Regions from separate parts of the Homo sapiens genome. Here region 2 is linked to region 1. Evidence: promoter capture Hi-C in 16 types of primary human blood cells and fetal thymus (Javierre and others, 2016). All regions are on one chromosome and are shown on one strand. The core of a region is centred on a gene start or on the middle of the fragment in contact, and the rest is flanking DNA. Distances in the headings are between cores, read along the strand shown.

Evidence for each region. The method cuts DNA at HindIII sites, captures the fragments that hold promoters and counts their contacts. A CHiCAGO score of 5 or more calls a contact.
Region 2: a contact is called between the fragment with the promoter of POLG here and the fragment with the promoter of KLHL25 in region 1, in 1 of 17 cell types (monocytes). The highest score is 5.9, in monocytes.

What each region holds. Positions count from the first base shown.
Region 1 is chr15:85,793,381-85,796,572 of GRCh38, forward strand. It overlaps KLHL25 (kelch like family member 25), which reads right to left and starts at 1,545. Exons shown (of 3, transcript NM_022480.4): 1 at 1,386-1,545. RefSeq lists silencers at 1,216-1,515, 1,666-1,735. The HindIII fragment of the contact is 2,328 bases long and covers 641-2,968 here.
Region 2 is chr15:89,333,574-89,336,765 of GRCh38, forward strand. POLG (DNA polymerase gamma, catalytic subunit) reads right to left here and starts at 1,251. Exons shown (of 23, transcript NM_002693.3): 1 at 1,100-1,251; 2 at 1-340. The coding sequence starts at 181. It overlaps POLGARF (POLG alternative reading frame), which reads right to left and starts at 236. Exons shown (of 2, transcript NM_001430120.1): 1 at 1-236. The coding sequence starts at 236. POLG-DT (POLG divergent transcript) reads left to right here and starts at 914. Exons shown (of 2, transcript NR_186332.1): 1 at 914-1,281; 2 at 1,614-2,588. It overlaps TRR-TCG1-1 (tRNA-Arg (anticodon TCG) 1-1), which reads left to right and starts at 1,500; the gene lies at 1,500-1,572. RefSeq lists enhancers at 519-1,020, 1,890-1,989, 2,000-2,069, 2,410-2,459 and a silencer at 710-1,309. The HindIII fragment of the contact is 8,583 bases long and covers 1-3,192 here.

The sequences.
Region 1 (3,192 bases), core at 295-2,794:
GCCGGAAAAAGACTGACTACGTCAACCTTCACAGGCACAGCTTGTGGACCCAAGAGCCTCCGGTCTTGGGACACCAAATGGACCCTGAGGTGGGGTAGACTTTGTGTCCTACTCTTCCCCAGACCCCCACGCAAGCCTTCACCAACATGCCAGGAATCCTCACAGCTCAGATCAGCACACTGAGCATCAGTTCCTCCTATGAATGGGGAGACTGGGACCCAGGGTCCCAGAGGGCTTGGCCCCATAACGGTCACTGGAATCTGGTCCAGGATACAGACCGTGGAATCCTGCCTCCTCTCCTGGTGCTACTGCTAACTTCCTTCCCTTCCTCTCTCTATTGGGCCGATAGAGTGGAACCAAATGGTCCAGACACCTGGCATTCTCTGCCCTGACTACCGAGGAGAGTCAAAGTCCAGCCCGCCTTCCCCAAGGTCAAATTCACCGGGATCCAGCAGGACCCAAGAGCGTCCAGATTAAATCTGCAGGGGCCTGGGTCCGCCCCCTCACCCACAGTTCGTTGGGTCAGGCCTCTAGAGAGATGTTTCTTTGTTCAAAGACAATGGGAATGCACTTTGGGGGCTTAGAGCAGCAACACAAAAAAAGTATCTGGTATCTCCCGGGCACAATCCCCCAAGAGAAAAGCTTCTAAAGCAACTACGAAAGAGACAGGGGGAGTGGGGGCGTAACATCGCGCGGTGTGTCTCGGAGCCAGGGCAAGTGTGGTAATTAGAGTCAGGCTAGAGGGCTTGCTCTGGACCTGCCAGTCTGGCCGCCACCCAGGTGGACAGGTGGGTGTGCCTTTGAGTGCGACCTTTCTCTGCCGCTGGACAGTTCTGCAAACCGAAACGAGGGACCCTGGCAGGCGGAACGTGAACGGCTCGGGGCTCCGCGGCCAGGCCCGCGCAAACCCTCCCCTTGTGAACCCCGGGCCCTCGCTCTGCGCCAGGCAGGCAGCCATCCGGCCTGGGCGTCCAAGGCGCGGGGCATCGCCGCTCGCGTCCTCAAAGACAAGCAGTCTCTCTTTCCAGGATCAATAGTAATTTTTTAAAAAAAAGAGTCTGCGGACTCAATGAATCAACCACTCCCTGGGGAAAGAGTAGCGGCTCCCGCGCGCAACATCCATTTGCCAAACAATTCATTCCCTCGCGCAGAGCTCTCGGCGAATTCCCTCGCGGAGCCGCGGGGTGCCGGCCGGCCGCCGCTCCCCACCATTGTCCCAGGGCCCCGGCCCCAGCCGCGGGGCCCCCTCCCGGGACACGTAGTCCCGCGGGGGCTCCGAGCGCTTGGTCCCGGCCCGGCCCGGGGTGGTGAGTCCCCAGCGCAGGGAGCGGGGGCGCGGGTGCTGCGGCCAGAGCACGGCGTCCCCGCCCGGCCTGGATACTCACTGCCGGAGACGATCCCCGCCGCCGCCGCCGCCTCAGAGACCACTCCCGGCAGCCCGCGCGAGCTCAACAGGCTCCGCCGCGGCTCCCGTCGGCCGGCTCTCCACAGGCAAAAACGCTCTCGCTGCGATACAGCCTAGGCGCCGCCAACAAACTAGTTTCTCCGGCCTTCCCGCCCCGCCTCCCGGCCCGAAGAGCAGCAGCCAATCAGAGGCATCGCCTCTGTGACGGATGGGCAGCCGAACCCTTCAGTGCAGCCGCAGAAAAGAAGGGGGTGGGCCCCAGGCCGCGCCGGCACCGGGGGGTGGGGGGCCGGGGGCGGGGAGGGGGGGGGACCGGGGGCGGGGCGGGGCGAGGAAAAGGACTTCGACCAGATTCTTAAAGAGACAGGCGCCTGCCCAACCCCGCCGCCCAAGTTTGGGAACAAAACGCGACGGTGTTCTAGAGCTTTCCAGAGGGAGCACTGTAGATTGCATATGCCTCTTTTGTGTTCGGGTCACAAGTGTTGTAGATCTCTTTAGACTCTTCAGAGCCACACTAGTAGTTGCCCGAGTGTTAATGAAACCCTGTCTTTCACTCTGGGCTTGTTTGAATGTTTGGGACTTTCTGCAGCCTCCAAACCCCACCTGTACTTGAAATCTGTATTTTTTGGAGTATTTCAGCTCTCCTCTCTGTGTCATTTCTCACTAAACTCCTTTCGTAAGCCAGCCTTTAAATGTTCGTTCATTCATTCATTCATCCATCCATCCAATAATTTCTTCCAGGAACGTTTCCTGGACGCCCACACCATGCACTCATCTTGGAGGGGGAGAACGGTTTGTGATTCTTCGTCCTTTTCCCTCCTGACTACTACTTCAGCTTACTGTGTGTGTCCAATCTCATCCGTAAAGCGGCAGATAAAAACTCCTCATCGGATTATTTGGGGGATTAAAGGAGACAAATTCCCAGACAAATGAGTGCGCAATAAATGTCCTCTCTTTTCTCCCTCCCAATGAAAATCGATAATTCAAGTAGGTTGCTTAAGGATACAAAAGGTAAAGCATAGAAAGTGATAAGAACGAAAGAGCCAAGCCTGGGGCGGGGAAATTCCCAGGAAGCAGAGGTCACCCTGACGGAGGTGGAGGTGGGAGGTGCAAGGAAGGTCTAAGAAAGTGTACAAAGATTTGGGAGAGGGGATAGGATTGTGACTAGTGGAACCTGGGAAATAGAGCCCCTGGGTAGAAAGCTGCTTAGACAGGACAGATATGCCAGGGTTAAAAGACTGGGAGATGATGAGAAGATACCACCAGGGAAGGCATTTTTGGGAAACAGCTTGATGTTCTGGGTTTGAAGCCCCGCCCTGCCCCTCAAGAGCTGGGTAGGACTGAAGCAGATGGCTCAGACTCTCTGGTGTCTGGTTCTTACTGGTGAAGAGGATTCTAAAACCTTTCTTGCAGGGGTATGGGAAAGATTAAGATAACATATGGAATAGGCCTGGCATGTAGTAAGTGCTCAGTACAGATTTGTGCTTCCATTTGGCCCAGATCTGCAGACATCTAAGGCACCAGGGTTCTGATATTTATGAACAATATTGGCCAGAGGTAAGAAGCTTGCCAAGTGCACTGTTAAGGTGCCTTCTGAAGAGAAAAGGTAGTGAGAGGTGAAGCCAGCTGGACTTTCTGGGTCCAGTGGGGACTTGGAGAACTTTTCTGTCTTACAAGAGGATTGTAAAATGCACCAATCAGCGCTCTGTATCTAGCTAGAGGTTTGTAAAATGTACCAATTAGTGCTCTGTAGAAATGCACCAATCAGCACTCTGTGGCTAGCTAGA
Region 2 (3,192 bases), core at 1-2,500, 3.5 Mb after region 1:
CTTGCGGCTGCTGAGGCTGCTGTTGCTGCTGCTGCTGCTGCTGCTGCTGCTGCTGCCGCCGCCGCTGCCCGTCGCTGGGGTCGGACGCGGGGACGGAGCTGGAGACCCAGCGCCCCGGAGCTGGAACCGGCCCTGGCCCGACGGTGGCGCCGGCCACCTTCCTCCAGAGCAGGCGGCTCATGGTTGGTGCAGGGACCCCCACGCTGGGAGTCAGAACACCTGGCTTTGGGCTCCAGCTTGGCTTCTTTTACTGGCTGGAAGACGTGGAGAGAGACACGTCCTGTCTCTGCTCTCCTGTCAGTGAAATGGGTTTGACCATGCCTGCCTTCCACCCCAAATCCTAAAGGAGACAGATGATATAAAGCGTTATTTTACCATATATGTAATAGGTGTATCCATAATCATCATTCCTTGAGCATTTACTGCGTCCCCAACACTGTGCCAGGCGCTTCAGTTGCATTTTCCGTTAAGCCTCAAAACTTGGGAAACGTCAATACCCCTCCTGGGGGAACCGGGGTCCACGCAACTTCGTCAGTGAACCCACGTGGGGAAGCCGAGGGCAGCGAGTAAGAGAGCAGTATCTGGAGTAGGGCGACGCGGTTTTGAACCCCGCTTCTGGCTCTCTCGAGCTGTGTGACCTTGGGCAAAGCTCCTTAGGCCCTGATATCCTATTCTGTAAAATGGGATTACGGATTCTGCCTGTCACACCGGGCTGCTGTCTGGGGGACACAGGGCGCCTATGTCGTGCGGCCCTGCTCTTGGCAAGCGCTCGGCAAATGGTGGCTGCCATTACCGCGACCGGCGCGGGCCTAGCGTCGAGAGGTGCCAGCGCCCGGATTCGAACCCGCAGGGTGGGCCGCCGTCCCCCGGGACCCACACCCACACCCGGACCACGGCCCACCCGGCCGAGAGCGTCCTGCAGGAGGAGTCGGCGGCCACCCCCGTGCGCCCCGCCGCCCGCCTGCGCCCGGCAGAGGCGCCGCGGTGCGCCCTGGGACTAGCCGCCGCCCTGCTCCGGGCCTCGCTCCCTGACTGGAGAGGGAGGGGCCGCGCCGTCGCTCAGCGACCCGGCCTCCCCGCCGCCGACCCCGCCGGAAACCTCGGTCCTCACGGTGCTTCCCGGTCTGCTGCTCCCCCGACCCCAGGCCCACGGCACGGCGTCCCCCTTCGCGCGGCCTACGCAGCCTCGGGGTAGCGTGTGGCCTCCACCCGGCCGGTCCGCTTCGCTGGCAGCCGCAACTTCCCGTCTGCACCCAGCTAGGTCCCGCGGCTACCCGAGAGGCAAGCGGGAGACTCCCAGCGCGACCAATAGGAGGGCCGCCAATGGAGCGGTCCGCCCGCGGGGGGAGAAGGGGGACTTCTGGGTGGGCTCTCCCTGCGGAACGCGCGAACCAAAGGCCAACCTCCCCTTCTCAAGGAGCAGGTGGATTGGTCCCGAGCTAGCTGGTGGGCGGAGGTGACGTTTTTATAAGTTGCTCAAGAGACGGTAACAACCGACGGGCCGCGTGGCCTAATGGATAAGGCGTCTGACTTCGGATCAGAAGATTGCAGGTTCGAGTCCTGCCGCGGTCGAAGGGAGGTTATGATTAACTTTTAGTTTATTCCTCCCTCAGGAACGAAGTATTGGGACAATGTGAACGTAGTCGCCGCCGATTCCCACCGCACTTCAAAGATGTGGGAACGCCAAGATCCGCGGAAGTAACCACGCCCAGCAAGTCCCTGCGAGATTGCCCGCCTACGTGTCTCAGCGGAGGCACATTTCTAAAATGTACCAGGTCTCTCGCACCCCGACGCAGGTGGAGGAAAGTGGAGAGGGAGGGGCATCCTGTACAGAAATCTCAATTTATACTCAATTGATGGTTGGCAAGAGTTGGGGCTCGCAGCCAAAGCGAGGCTCCCTCCCTCGCCCATCCGGTGCTGCCTCCTCGTCCAGAGCAATTCTGAGGGGTAAAAATGTTGCCTTCCGTTGAACCTGAATTTGCCCGCAGATGCTAGCCTCCGGCCCACAGCGCGGCTGGAGCTTGTCCCCTTCCCCAGCTGTTTCCAGTCTCCGCATCCGTCTTGTGTTGCTCCAGGTGCTTCAACAGCTCTCAGCGCTCGGTGGTTGGTGAACTGTGGTAAAGTGCACGCAGAATAAGGTCTACGTGATTAAGCACCGCCTGGGGGTTGGGGTCTGGAGGCCCAGCTGCACAGATGAAAGGGAGGCTCAGAGACGTTTGGGACCAACCGAGATCACACAGCTGATTAGGAATAAAATTCAGGTCAAGCTGAAAGTCGGCCGCCACCGTCCAGCGTGGATCCCAGGACACCGTGAACGGACTACAGAAGTTGACTTTCGCGTTTTTAAGGAGTGGGGTGCAGGGAAACAATCCTCCGCCGGCCCTGCGGGCTGATGCCGACCCTCACCTGCTCCCGCCACGTGGAGAGGTAGAGAGAAGCCCCGGGCCAAGCAGCATTGAGCCCTGGTCCCTTCTATTTAAATATGAAATATTTTGCATACACTTTTCTAGATGTACTTAATATACACAATGTTTTAATGTTTGTGATTTTTTTGTTTTGCCAAAAAAATACAATCAATCAGAAATTCATCTGTTTTTTTTTTTTTTTTCACATAACTGTTGACTTTTACAAAATACTGGAAGGAGAGGCTCTCAGCTTAAATCAGGGAGTCCCTGAATGGGGAAAACATTTTCATCTTGTTTCTTCTAACCGCCTACTGATACTTGGCATTTCCTCCAATTATGAGCATAGGCTGTCAGCCACAGTGGTATTAACAGTGCCTGTGACTTTGTCCCCTCCAGCAACCACAGATATTTTCATAACGCATTACAAGTGCTGCACATTTTTCAAAATTTGTTTGCACTTATCTGTACTTCAAAATAACAGGGGTTACTAGACTGCCACTAGATCCTGTTAGTTAATAAGTTTACCTATTTGTCCTAATATTTGAATACCTTTGGTGTCCTTTGTAATCCTTCATGTTTTATGTGCTTAAAAACACTATTCTTCCATATAACCAAAAACTGCCTGTACCCCTATTGAAATAAAAATTAATAAAACATATTTCACAGAAAAAAATTAAAAACAGAAACACTACTCTAGGCCAGGTTCAGTGGCTCACGCCTGTAATCCCAGCACTTTGGGAGGCTGAGGTGGATGGATTGCCTGAGCTCAGGAGTTGAAGACCAGTCT